Regions from separate parts of the Homo sapiens genome. Here regions 1 and 3 are each linked to region 2. Evidence: promoter capture Hi-C in 16 types of primary human blood cells and fetal thymus (Javierre and others, 2016). All regions are on one chromosome and are shown on one strand. Each heading gives the region's core, a stretch centred on a gene start or on the middle of the fragment in contact. The rest is flanking DNA. Distances are from core to core; before and after follow the strand shown. Region 1 holds the start of ACY3 (aminoacylase 3). Region 2 overlaps POLD4 (DNA polymerase delta 4, accessory subunit). Region 3 holds the start of NUDT8 (nudix hydrolase 8).

Region 1 (4,705 bases), core at 1-2,500, 300 kb after region 2:
CGGGGTCCAGGAACCCTCAGAAACAGCAGCCCCCAGTCCTGGCAGTGTGTGCGCGTGTGTGCATGTGTGTGCATGCATGTGTGCATCTGTACATGTGTGCGTGTGCATGAGAGCATGTGTGTGCGTGTGTGCACTCACATGTGTACGTGACAGCATGCGTGTGTGCGTGCGTGTGTACATGTGTGTGCATGTGCATGAGTATTGTGTGCATGTGTGCATGTATGTGTACATGTGTGCGTGTGTGCATGAGAGCATGTGTGCGTGTGTGCGCATGTGTGACAGCATGCATGTGTGCGTGTGTACGTGTGTGCATGTGCATGAGAGTATTGTGTGCATGTGTGCATGCATGTGTGTGTACATGTGTGCGTGTGTGCATGAGAGTGTGTGTGCATGTGTGTGCATGTGTGCATGTGCTTGAGAGCGTGTGTGCGTGCATGTGCGTGAGCATGTGTGCGTGTGTGTGTGTTGTGTGCACACGTGTGACCTGGCTCTGGCCCCACCTCCCTGACAGGCTGTGTGACCTGGAGAGATTCAGTGCCCTCTCTGGGCCTTGGCTCCACCCTGTGAAAGTCCTGGCCAAGGGCAGCTGTGGGGAGTGAGGAACAAAGGGCGGGCACAAGCTTGAAAATGGGCACATGGAGACCCCAGCATGAGTGAGGGCAGAGGATGGTGATGTCATGGGCATCATCACGGGGGCCAATTTCCTCACTGCAGTTGGGGAAACTGAGACCCAGAGAGGGGTCAGAGCTGTGGTTCCCCCCTGTGTCAGCATCCAATTAGATCATGCCTCCCAGCATCACCTCATTGCAAGATGCAATCAGATCACGCCTCATTACCCTATGCTTATAAAACCTGCCCCAGCCCTCAGCTCGGGGAGACACTGCTTTGGGAGCTGTCTAGGTGTTCTCCTTACTTGTTGCAAGAAATAAAATCCCCTATTAAATCCTCTTTAGTTAACACCCGCCAAGCAACTGAGCCCACCCGTTGTGTGGGTAACAAAACTCTGGCGACCCAGATGGGGCCGACTGGGATTCTGATCCTAACTTCTTGAGGCTCACTAAGGTAAAGCAGTGGGCCGCGGCACCTTCCCCGGGCGAACTCACCCACGTGGCCCCAGAGGGTTGAGGGTGACTCCCGGGGATCTTCTGCTTGCTGCGTGGCCCGTGGGGCTGTCACTCCGCCCTACCCCCGAAACAGCGGAAGCAGCTGCCTGGAGCTTTTGTTCTGTGCTGCTCCTTCAGGGAAGAAAGTGGACTTTGCCCCGTGGGTTGACTGAAAGGGTAAATTCTTTGGACCTAGCAGTGGGATCTCTAGACTTCAGCGCAGGGCACCTCTGCTTTCGGTTTCTGTCTGGCTCTACGTGCCGTGGGGGATTGAGAGGCATCTCTGGCCAGGCCAAGGGCAACCCGGATCCCGGATCTGGGTAGACAACAGTGGGACTAGTTTTGGGAATTCGTTTTTTTTTTTTTGAGACAGAGTCTGGCTCTGTCACCCAAGCTGGGGTGCAGTGGCGCGATCTCGGCTCACTGCAAGCTCCACCTCCCGGGTTCACGCCATTCTCCTGCCTCAGCTTCCTGAGTAGCTGGGACCACAGGCGCCCGCCACCACGCCCGGCTAATTTTTTGCATTTTTAGTAGAGACGGGGTTTCACCGTGTTAGCCAGGATGGTCTCGATCTCTTGACCTCGTGATCCGCCCGCCTCGGCCTCCCAAAGTGCTGAGATTACAGGCGTGAGCCACCGCGCCCAGCATGAGAATTTGTTCTTTTTTAGAGAAACAGAATTTTTCACAGGAGGCTGAGCTGCTCCATCTCCCAGAGCCCCTACTTGCCATACCCCGGGTTACCAGAAACAGGAGCTCTGCCATTTGATGAAAAAAATACTTTTTTCAGATAAATGTTTTTGTCATATCATCACACAAAGCGGGTAAAGTTGTATATATATACATACAACTTTTTACAAATATGTGATCATATGTACAAAGGCTAGAAGGAAATATACAGAAAAATATGTATTAAAATACTGGTTTTTTTTCATTGTTTTATAAGATACTCTACAAAACATTACAATGAGGTAGGACTATTTTAGTGCTAGAGAATCTCATTAAATGAATTTGTTCAAGAGCTTCTTTGTCAGCTGGGTGCAGTGGCTCACACCTGTAACCCCAACACTTTGGGAGGCCAAGGGGGGCAGATTGCTTGAGCCTAGGTGTTCAAGACCAGCCTGGGCAACATAGGGAGACCCTGTCTCTACCAAAAAAAAAAAAAAAATTAGGGTGGGCGCGGTGGCTCACACCTATAATCCCAGCACTTTGGGAGGCTGAGGCGAGTGGATCACCTGATGTCAGGAGTGTAAGACCAGCCTGGGCAACATGGCAAAACCCCGTCTGTACTAAAAATACAAAATTTATCCAGGCATGGTGGTGGGTGCCTGTAATCCCAGCTACTTGGGAGGCTGAGGCATGAGGCAGAGGTTGCAGTGAGCCGAGATCATGCCATTGCACTACAGCCTGGGCGACAAGAGCGAAACTCTGTCTCAAAAAAAAAAAAAAAAAAAAATTAGCCAGGTGGTGGCACACACAGCTGTGGCCCCAGCTACTCAGGAGGCTGAGGCGGGAGAATCACTTGAGCACGGGGAGTTGGAGGTAATCGTACCGTGAGTACAGTGAGCCGTTATCGTATGGCTGCATTCCAGGCTAGACAACACAGTGAGACCTTGTCTCAAAAGAAAATAAATAAATAAATAAATAAATAAATAAATAAATAAATAAATAAAGAGCTTCTTTGTCAATATCCTTTTGTGGGTATACATCATAGTCCCACAGTACTTCTTCAACCCAGGGAGATAAATGTGTATTAGTCTGAAGACCCAGGAGAGAATCTTCAAGACTTGGCACTGTCACTGATGATGATCTGCTTCCTTACATTATGACAAATGTATTCCCAGCTCCGGCTTGTTCTGCCTCATTAAGAGAATATTTGAAGACATTATTCATGATAGCAGCATCAGCATTTTGCAGAAGAAACCCTGGGGACAGATGTCTGCATGAAGCACCTTTATTCTGTGAATAAACTGGTATTTTTTAATGACCATTTCCTGCAACTGGCAAAAGTCTCCGTTCAGTTCTACTCCACAGGGTTGCACTGCTAAGCTATAAGATCACCCCATAAAGACTGTGCTGAGCCTGGAGCTGACGTCAGCCACAGCCTTTCCTGATTGATCAGGGAGTGCATGAAGATAAATGAACTTCAATTCCATGAGGGAGAAGGAACGAGCAATCGGTCTAAAGGTTCTGTTTGGTGTGAACCACCCAGTAGTTTCTGCTCATTTTCCCTTTGTCACATAATGAATCAATGAAGTCTTTATCACAAAGGAATGCGTCAGCGTGAATGGTGGGTTCTGGCTGCTGCTGTAGTTTTTGAAGGGTTAGATGTTCTGAGGAAAGCATGGTTTCTAGAGGCAAGCAATTCTGAAGGTCTTCTGCAGTGGGTTTTTTTTTTTTTTAATTTTGAGACAAGGTCCGGCTCTGTCACCCAGGCTGGAGTGCAGTGGCTCGACTGTGGCTCACTGCAACCTCCAACTTCCAGGTTCAAGCAGTCCTCCCATCTCAGCCTCCCAAGTAGCTGAAACTACAGGCACGCACCCAGCTAATTTTTTTTTTGAGATGGGGTCTTGCTATGTTGTCCAGTCTGGTCTCAAACTCCTGAGCTCAAGTGATCCACCCCCTTCAGCCTCCTAAAGTGCTGAGATTACAGGCATAAGCCACCACACCCAACCTTTCTGCTGTGTTTTTAAACACAATGTCTTTATTTCCTTCAGTGAATTCATCAAAATCTCGGGCAGTTTGCATCTGCTGGAGCAGTGCCGGGCGGTCGGCAGAGCCACAGTATAGAGCAGTTACAAGATTTCCTGCCTTGCCGAGTGAAATCTATGCCTTCCAATTTTTTTTAATTAATTAATTTTTAAAAAATTAGATTGGTACAAAAGTAATTGCAGTTTTTGCCATTACTTTCAATGGCAAAAACAGCGGTTACTTTTGAACCAACCTAATATTATAGAGACAGGGTTTCACCATCTTACCTAGGTTGGTCTCGAACTCCTAAGCTCAAGTGATCCACCCACCTCGGCCTCCCAAAGCGTGGTGATTATAGGCATGAGCCACCATGCCCGCCCCTCCCCACCAATATATTTTTAAAACTAGTTGAGTGTGGGCCAAGAGTTGTGGGATCTGTGTCACCACCAATCCCGCCTCTAAGCTGCTGGGTGGGTAATATGGGAAAACAGTAATTGTAGCAGGACTCCAGTGGCAGAAGCCATGCGGATAAACTACAAAAAGCAGAAGGGACACTGGGGATGCTGACATCTCCATTGGTTGAGATTACCCTTAAGGTATTGAGCAACTGTGGCCAGGTCCAGGAAGGGCAAAAAAAAAACAAAAAACAAAAAACAAAAAGGCAACACAAGACAAGAAGCCATCGAGTCTCTTGGCTACAACCAGCCAGTACACAAGAAACAGTTCACTGCGGCCAGGCGTGGTGGCTCATGTCCGTAATCCCAGCACTTTGGGAGGCTGAGGCGGGAGGATCACCTGAGGTCAGGAGTTCAAGACCAGCGTGGCCAACATGGCTAACCCTGTCTCTACTAAAAATATAAAAAATTAGCCAGGCATGGTGGTGGGCACTTGTAATCCCAACTACTCGGGAGGCT
Region 2 (4,329 bases), core at 1,580-4,079:
CCCTTACCAAATGCAAGTTTTGCCAACTTCTTTTGCAACATCTCTTATAGTTCTTTGTCCCTTTATTTTATTTATTTTTATTTTTTTTGAGATGGAGCTTCGCTCTTGTTACCCAGGCTGGAGTGCAGTGGCGCGATCTTGGTTACTGCATCACTGCAACCTCCGCCTCCCCGGTTCAAGTGATTCTCCTGCCTCAGCCTCCTGAGTAGCTGGAATTACAGGCATGCACCACCACGCCCAGCTAATTTTGTATTTTTAGTAGAGACAGGGTTTCTCCACGTTTGTCAGGCTGGTCTCGAACTCCCAACCTCAGGTGATCCACCCGCCTCGGCCTCCCAAAGTGCTGGGATTACAGGCATGAGCCACCGCTCCCAGCCAAATGCTAGTTTTTTATGATTTTATGTGGAAACCTCTGTGGTATATACTTCACAGCTCTGTGCACCTAGCCTGTGGCACACACATAATTCCCTCCTGCTTGCCTTTGTTCAGCTCATTCCCTTAGTCTAGAACACTATTCTCTGGCTGGGTGTGGCAGTTCACTCCTGTAATCCCAATACTTTAGGAGGCCAAGGCAGGAGGATTATTTGGCCTCAGGTGTTTGAGACCAGCCTGGGCAACATAGCAGGACTATCTCTCTAAAAAAAAAAAAAAATTTTTTTTTAATTAGCTGTGTATGACACGTGCCTATAGTCCCAGTTACTTGGGAGACCAAGGCAGGAAGATGGCTTGAACCTGGGAGTTTGAGGCTGCAGTGAGCCATGATTGCACCACTGTGCTCCAGCTTGGGCAACAGAGCAAGACCCTTTCTCAAAAAAAAAAAAAAAAAAAAAAAAAAAATATATATATATATATATATATATATATATATATATATATATATATGCTTTTTAGTATTTCTGAAGTGCTGTTCAAACTGAGTGAGGTGGTATAGTAGATGTATCAGGGGTACCTGAAAGCAGCCATAAGCCACATGTGGCACATCTTCCTGGAGACTTCATTTTATTTAATTATAAATAATTTCACCTACTTTTATGTTAATACAGCTACTCCAGGCCGGGCACAGTGTCTCATGCCTGTAATCCCAGCATTTTGGGAGTCTGAGGCGAGTGAATCACTTAAGGTCAGGAGTTCAAGAGCAGCCTGGCCAACATGGTAAAACCCCGTCTCTACCAAAAATACAAAAATTAGCCGGGAATGGTGGTGGGTACCTCTAATCCCAGCTACTTGGGAGACTGAGGCACGAGAATTGCTTGAACCCTGGAGGCAGAGGTTGCAGTGAGCCAAGATCATCCCACTGCATTTCAGCCTGAGTGACAGAGTGAGACTCTGTGTCAAAAAAGAAGTACAACTACTCCAGACATATGGAGTAGAATGCAAAATTGATGAAGGAAATGACTAAGAACATTCCGCATGGTGCTGTCCCCTACAGTGGGGAGTCTGCATTCGCCCTGCGGTGGAAGGTGGGAAGGTGAGAAACAGGGACCCCTGATTAGAAGGGGCTAGGTGCAGATGAGGTGCAGCAGGGGGAATACAATGCAGCGGGAGGAAGGTTGCAGTCCCTGTGCTCGAGGCCCCTGCAGCGGGTCCCTGTCACCCATGGTGCTCTTTCCTTTCTGAGAACTCAGACAATTCAGTGTCTGTGCCACTCCTAGGTTGCCTCGGGAAAGCACTCATATTACATGGTTTTCTAACTTGCCACATATGTAGTCCTTATCTCCTCGACAACATTCTTATCCTCCAACATCTGGAGTGCAGGTGCGGGGTGAATTCAGGCCCTGGTGTTTACTGATTGAGCAAGGCACTTTTCCTCTCAGCCTTGGTTTCCTTATCTGTAAAACATGGATAGTACTTCCCTAATGAGATTGTTCTCAGGATTCAACTAGATAACATGTGTGCAGCATTTCACATAGCAGATGGCATGGATAGGCACTTAGTAAACATCAGAGCCCTCCCAGCAGTGTCAGGCTCTTAGTAAATATCTGATTCTTGAATATTCCCATCCCCAAATATATCCCCCTACCTGAGGCTCCTCTCATATTCTCTGCCTCCCTTCCTGTCACAGTGCATGTGTCTACTGAAGGCCACCCTCTTCCTGTATCCTGGTTCCTGGCCCTCCTCACCCTCACAAAGATCTCACTCACACAACTGCCTCCTCATCTCCGGTAACCTCAGGTTCCCTCGCTACTGGATCTCTCAGATCACTTCTCTCTCTACACTCACTCTGGGGATCTCATCCACTGTTGGAGCTTTCAAGGCCATCTAAAAGATTCCCAAGTTTATATTTTAAACCTAGAATGCCTCAGAATCCGAGACTTACATATCCACTGCCTATACCCCATGTCCCTTTGGAAGTGGCACAGATACTTCAGCATGTCTAAGATGGAGCTCCAGATTCCTGCCCCACCCTTCCCACAAGTCTTCCCATCTTAGTAATGAGAACTCTGTCCTTCCAGTCGCCCAAACCAAAACCTTTGGAGTTATCCTTGGCTCCTCCCTCTTAAATCCCACAGTCGACCAATAGGCAAGTCCTGCCAGTCAGCTCTTCCTTAAAAATACAGAGCGTACCTGGCCACTTCTGAGCAGTCCACCTCCCCACGCTGGTCCAGATCACCCTCAGCTCTCATGAGGCCAACTTCAGTAGCCTCCTGAGTGGTTTTGCTACCTCTGTTTTCCCCAGCTCCACAATCTTGTTTTCCACCAACAGAGTAATGTTTTCGAAACATAAGCTTGACTCTGTCATTTATTGGCTTCAAGCCCTCCAGTATCCTCCCCTCTCACTCAGAATCAAATCCAGTTTCTTATCATGGCCCTAGGGACCAGCCCGCTGCCTGTCTGCCCTCAATTCCCACTACCCTTCCTCACTCCCTGGCCCCCAGCCTCACTGGCCTCCTCAGTGCCTTTCCTGGAGCAGGCTGGAAACACTCCTTCCTCAGGAAGCTTCTCCTTGTTGCTCCTTCTGCCTGGAACCCTCAGATGCAGACCTTGCTCCCTTCCTTCCTTCAAGTCTCTGCTCAAATGCCACCTTAGCAGAGGGCCTTCCCTGACCAGTCTCTCTAACATAGCGCCCCTGGCATCCTTGGACCCTTTCTGATCCCAACTCTGATTTTGCTTACTACTGACTGCTACCTGTCATAATTAACTTACGTGTTTGTTTTTGCCCATCTCCTGACCATTAGTAATACCCCAAGGGGACCTTTGGTGCCTGGCACATAGTGAGTGCTTAGCAGCTGGGCAGGAGGTATGGCATAGTCTGGAAGAGGTTAATGCAAGTGGCCCCTGGTCACTGCACTGCCTCTTGCCTGCTGTGTGCTTTTGGGCAACTTTACTTAACCTTTCTTAGTTTCAGTTCCCCCTCAGTAAAACCTACCTGGAAGGTTTTTTAGGAGGATTCGAGGTAATACATTTAAAGTACCTGAGACATGATCAGTGCTCAGACGGGGGCTACACAGGCCACTTAGCTGCCCTCTAGGCCTGTTTCCAAGAACTTACTAGTGCTGCCTCCATCTACCCCCAGGATAGAGGGCTGCCACAGTAGATGAAGGTAACACTATAGAAGCGGTTACTGACTCTATTCTCCATGTCATACCCTGACCCTGGGTCCCCTGGGCATTGTTTCTGGCTCCAGCCAGTTCTCCTCCATCCCCCAGCACCATCAGTTTCTTTTTTCTTTCTTTTTTTTTTTTTTTTTTTTGAGATGGAGTCTTGCTCAGTCGCCCAGGCTGGAGTGCAGTGGCGCGATCTCGGCTCACTGCAAGCTCCGCCTCCCGGGTTCACGCCATTCTCCTGCCTCAGCCTCCCAAGTAGCTGGGACTACAGGTGCCCGCCACCAGGCCTGGCTAAGTTTTTTTGTATTTTTAGTAGAGACGGGGTTTCACTATGTTAGCCAGGATGGTCTCGATCTCCTGACCTCCTGATCCACCTCCCTCGGCCTCCCAAAGTGCTGGGATTACGGGCGTGAGCCACTGCGCCCAGCCTTTATTTTGTATTTTTTTATTTTTTGAGACGGGGTCTCTCTCTGTCACCCAGGCTGGAGTGCAGTGATGCGGTCTCAGCTCACTGCCAGCTCTGCCTCCCGGGTTCACGCCATTCTCCTGCCTCAGCCTCCTGAGTAGCTGGGACTACACCTGGCTAATTTTTTGTATTTTTAGTAGAGATGGGGTTTCACCATGTTAGCCAGGATGGTCTCGATCTCTTGACCTCGTGATCCGCCCTCCTTGGCCTCCCAAAGTGCTGGGATTACAGGTGTGAGCCACCGCGCCCAGCCATCAGTTTCTTACCAAAGCCCCTCAGATGATGGTCATGTCTGAGCAGGTCCTGCAAGTTGAGACC
Region 3 (4,484 bases), core at 1,966-4,465, 280 kb after region 2:
CAGCAGTGGCAACCCGCTCAGGTCCCCTTCCACACTGTGGAAGCTTTGTTCTTTCGCTCTTTGCAATACATCTTGCTACTGCTCACTCTTTGGGTCCACACTGCTTTTATGAGCTGTAACACTCACCACAAAGGTCTGTAGCTTCACTCCTGAGCCAGCGAGACCACGAACTCACCAGAAGGAAGAAACTCCAAACACATCCGAACATCAGAAGAAACAAACTCCAGACGCACCACCTTAAGAGCTGTAACACTCACTGTGAGGGTCCATGGCTTCATTCTTGAAGTCAGTGAGACCAAGAACCCACCAATTCCGGACACACAACCGGCCATGTGACAGGCTCAGGGAAGGACATGTGACTCAAGGCAGGCCAGTGAAGTGCAATTCTAGGTTAGACTGGCCGGGAAGGAGCGGCCGTGTTTTCTGTTGATGGATGCTGCTGCCCTCTCCTCAACCTCTCACGCTCTGCACTACAGACAACCTCCTTGGGGCTGAGGCCAGCACAGCGCAAAGCACAGCAAGAGGGGAGCCCGAGCCCCTGGATCCAGCCATCCTCCACGGCAAGCTCAGACCACCCGCTCCCTCAGCTCTTTCACAGAACCCTGGTCTACCTAGTTGATGTCTTATATAATTCCACTATTATCTGTGATTAATTAATGTGGAACCACATGATTATCTGTGTGACCTGGTCTGAGGTCTCCCCTAGACTGAGCACCCCCTCTGGACGGCAGGTGAGCATCTGACCGGTCCACAGCTGTGGCCCCCACACAGCAGCTGGCACACACAGGGGCTCTGCATGTTAGACTCCTGCAGTAACACCCAGGGGCATGGGTGCGCCTTACTCCTCTCTGGGATCCCGGAGCCCAGCACAGCGTCAGCCAGGCACAGCAGAGAGAACAGGAGGTGCAGGCTGAGACAGGGCAGTGCAGTGCCTAAGAGTCTGGGCTGTGGAGTCTGAGAGCTCTGGTTCCAATCCCAGCGTGGGGCCCTTAGGCAAGGTGTCTCTCCTCCCTGAAAGCAGTCTCACCAGCCAGAGACAGTGTTGGCCCTGCCTTATGGGCTGTTGTGAGGGTGAGATGAATTGACTCCAAGTACTTGGCACCCAGGAAGTGTCCATTGCTGTGGGGCATGGCGTGACTGGAAGGAGGAGCCCCAGCCAGCGACCTGGAGTGGTCTGCCCAAGGTCAAGGCCCCAGTACAGCAGAAGCAAGAGCTCTAGAGCTGTCAAAGACCTTTATTCAGTCCTGGAGTGGAGCTGGCCTGACAGGGTGAAGCCAGGGGCTGCTTAGGGCGGGCCAGACCCTCAGCCCCTGAGCAGGTCAGGCCGGCCAGGCGGGGCTGGTAGGTACCAGGTGCCAGCAGCTGCAGGGCAAACTCAGTGATGACAGCTGTGAGGCCCCAGACCCGGTGTGGTCCATGCAGGAAGACGGGTAGTGTGTAGCGGAAGTGGCCACCCCGGCAGAAGTGGGTATAGCCCTGATTCTGCGTCTGCAGCAGGTGGGCCAGCGGCAGTGCAAACACCTCATCTACCTGCAGGCAGGAGGCAGAGAGGGTAGACAGAGGACTGGAACAGCCCAACCCCCTCATATCCCCCAGCTCACCTCCTCCGAGTTGGGCCTGAGGCTCTGGGGATCCAGTGGGCCTACACCAGCAAGCACTGGCACCACGGTGGCCTTTTGCTGGGGAAGAGGGCAGGTGGTCAGGGAAGCATGGCCTTCGCTGGGTTTGAAGGCTGGGGAGGGGAGTGTGAGAGGAAGACCCCTTTGCCATGCATAGGCCTTTGGTAGTCATGTTCGGGTCCACCTGCCTGTGTCCTCCAGCCATGCTGACTGACTCAGGTCCCCTCAAATGCACTAGACCTGTTCCCTCTGCTTAGGACAATCTCCCACTTGGCATTCAAGCCTGGGTTCAATCCCTGCCTACCCCATGAAGCTTCCCTGACCCTAATCCACCAAACTGAGTGGAGCTGGCCCACCCCATCGCCCTGGGCCACCTCTACTCAGGACACCAGAGCCTCCCCAATCCCTTCCCGAGGGGGTGTGTGGGGTGGTGCATGTGACCAGGCAGGTTAGGGGCACCCTTCCACACTTTGTGCCCGTGGGGGTCCATGACCACTCTCCTGGTCCCTGGTAGCCCAGCTCCAGGGCAGGCACAGAGTGAGTGAATGGGGTGGGGTGGCCTCAGCCAAGTGGCTTACCGGATCATACACAGGCCGCAGCAGGCCCCACACGTGCTCCTCGGGCACTGCCAGGCCCAGCTCCTCCCGGGTTTCCCGCAGGGCCGTGTGCACCACATCTTGGTCAGCCGGGTCGCACTTGCCGCCTGGGAAACTAAACAGACACAAGGAGTCTGGTCCTTGGACTCTTGGGGCCACGGAGAGGTCGGGGTATCGGCAGTGCGGGGGGGGCCACTGGCCCACCGAAGTGTCGCCTGCCTCTGCCCCTAGTTTACTGGGAGGCCCCAGGCAAGCCATGCGACCTCTGGAGGCCAGTTTACCTCCCTGAGCAATGGGGATAAGGAAGAGAGGCCCGGGACAGCGCAGGATAAGAGGGTCTGCAGCAGGGGCAAGAAGATCCTGGGGCTCAGATACCCAAATTCGGCCTATGGTGGCCCCAGCAACACTGACATTGTCCTCAGGATGTTCTTAATTCCCGCCGGGCGGGGCCCGAACCTCTCCGTAGTCGCCGGCAGGGGGCGGCGTCCGCCCTCTAAGCGGGAAACAGCTCAAAGGGGTGTCCCGGCCCAGGCGTGCGCGCAAGGACGCGTACGAGGGGCCCACGCGGCGAGGACGTGGCGCCCCGGCAGGTGCACCGGGGCCGACGGACACGGATCGCTGACCTCTCGCTGCAGCCCTTGGGCGGAGGGACTCTCCCCAGACCCATTTTACGGAGGCGGAAACCGAGGCTCGAAGGGGCTAAGTGCCCTGCCAGAGGTCCCTGCCAGCCCCGGGCTCCTGTAGCCTCCGGCAAAGGGCGAGGAGTTCCCGGCCGCTGTACCTGACGTCGCCCTTGTGCCTCCCGGTCAGGCGGCTGGACCGCAGCGTGTACAGCAGCGCCGGGACCCCACGCACTGAGCAGAGCGGCACGAGCACCGCGGCCGACGCGGGCCGCGCGCGGAGCCGGGCCGTGGCCCCTGCCAGCAGCCGGCGGCAGCGCAGCTCGCCCTCGGCCGACAGGCAGTCGGGCAGCATGTCAAGTCCTGCGCGGCCGGGACACTGAGGGCGCGGGATCGGGCGAGGGAAGAGGCGGGGCGAGGCGGGGCGGGGCGCTCAGCCCGGGTCCCTCCGAAAGCTGAGAGGGAGAAGGGGCAGCCCGCGCGACGCGTCCCGCCTGGGGGGCTGCAGAGCGGCAGCGGCGTCGGGGGGCCTCAGTGGGGTGGGTCTGTTCGTGGGCGGGGCCTTCCCGGAGACGGGGCCTCGGTGGGACTGGGTCTGTTCGGGGGCGGGGCCTGTTTGAAGGCGGGTCCTCGGTGGGACGGGGTCCGTTAGGGGGCGGGGCCTGTTTGAAGGCGGGGCCTCGGTGGGACGCGTTGAGTCCCCCGGATGGGAGGGACGGAGGGCGGCGGGGCGGGGCGGGGCGGGGCCTGCGCGGGAGCCGGACTCGGACGTTACTGCCAAAGGGCGGCGGGGCCTAGTAGGCAATCGAGGTTGGGGCGGGCTGGGGGCGGGGCCTGGACCGGAGCTTTTGCTACGAAGGACTGGGGGGCGTGGCCAGGAGGACTGTGCTTCCGGCAGGGCCGGGCCGTGGCCGGGGGTGTGGCCGCGGGGAGGGAGATGGGCGCGGAGCTGCAGGACCTGCCGGTTGTGTTCTCCGAGATCCTGAAACCACGCGAACCGTGAAGCGCCCGGCGACCGTCCTCGGTCCCGTTGGGTCCTGGCGTTGGGGTGTCTGATGAGGCCCCGCCGGCCCCCACTGGTCCGTCCCTCCCCTAGGGGCTCCAGGATGTACGGAGCCGGGATCCCACGGGGACGCCCCTCCAGGAACCCGAGGTCGATCGGTGCGCGAGAGGAGCGTCCGGCCCAGCCCTCCCTCCGGTCCTCCCTCCCGATACCGCTGGGTGGCGCGCGCCGCCCCCAGTCTTGTCTTCCCCTCTGGCTCCGTCGGACTCCAGCCCCAGGCCTTTGACCTCCTTGTCCCAGCGTCCAGAGCTCTTCTCCCTTCCTGCCTTGAGTCTTGACCGGATTCCCAAATCCCTCCCCCTTTCCTACCTCGGCCCCTGTGGTCACTGACCACCGTGGTTCTGCGCCCTTCCACCAGACCCTGGGCTTGGGGACCAGATGACCCCAGCCTTGCGCACAGCATTTAAACGTGGGGTGGCGGGTGTCCGCCATGCTCTGCTGTGTGACGTTGAGCAGGTCCCGCGCCTCTCTGAGCGCCAGTTTCGATCCTCATCTGGGCAAGTGCAGCCCTGCCACTGGGCTGGAGTCACCACTTTTAATATTACTGTGTGCTCCCAGGGATGCGGACGGCACTGGGCAGAGCTTC

The links. Contacts are between HindIII fragments. The CHiCAGO score rates a contact against its expected background, and 5 or more counts as called.
Region 1: a contact is called between the fragment with the promoter of ACY3 here and a fragment that was not itself captured in region 2, in 1 of 17 cell types (naive CD8 T cells). The highest score is 5.8, in naive CD8 T cells.
Region 3: the fragment with the promoter of NUDT8 here is called in contact with a fragment that was not itself captured in region 2 in 6 of 17 cell types (naive CD4 T cells, total CD8 T cells, naive B cells and 3 more); the score reaches 6.4 in naive CD4 T cells.

What each region holds. Positions count from the first base shown.
Region 1 is chr11:67,649,480-67,654,184 of GRCh38, forward strand. It overlaps ACY3 (aminoacylase 3), which reads right to left and starts at 1,251. Exons shown (of 8, transcript NM_080658.2): 1 at 1,104-1,251. RefSeq lists enhancers at 1,323-1,402, 1,473-1,532. The HindIII fragment of the contact is 12,167 bases long and covers 619-4,705 here.
Region 2 is chr11:67,346,798-67,351,126 of GRCh38, forward strand. POLD4 (DNA polymerase delta 4, accessory subunit) reads right to left here. Exons shown (of 4, transcript NM_021173.5): 4 at 3,975-4,329. All of the region lies in intron 2 of LOC100130987 (a long non-coding RNA gene), which reads left to right. Among named protein-coding and RNA genes, the nearest start is that of POLD4, 4.6 kb to the right of the region's middle. RefSeq lists a silencer at 1,369-1,508. The HindIII fragment of the contact is 211 bases long and covers 2,725-2,935 here.
Region 3 is chr11:67,626,722-67,631,205 of GRCh38, forward strand. NUDT8 (nudix hydrolase 8) reads right to left here and starts at 3,216. Exons shown (of 4, transcript NM_001243750.2): 1 at 2,997-3,216; 2 at 2,198-2,330; 3 at 1,602-1,679; 4 at 1,217-1,530. The coding sequence starts at 3,190. The coding sequence ends at 1,225. LOC124902696 (a long non-coding RNA gene) reads left to right here. Exons shown (of 2, transcript XR_007062741.1): 2 at 1-672. RefSeq lists silencers at 1,757-2,051, 2,619-2,768, 3,059-3,848, 3,969-4,138. The HindIII fragment of the contact is 2,776 bases long and covers 1,931-4,484 here.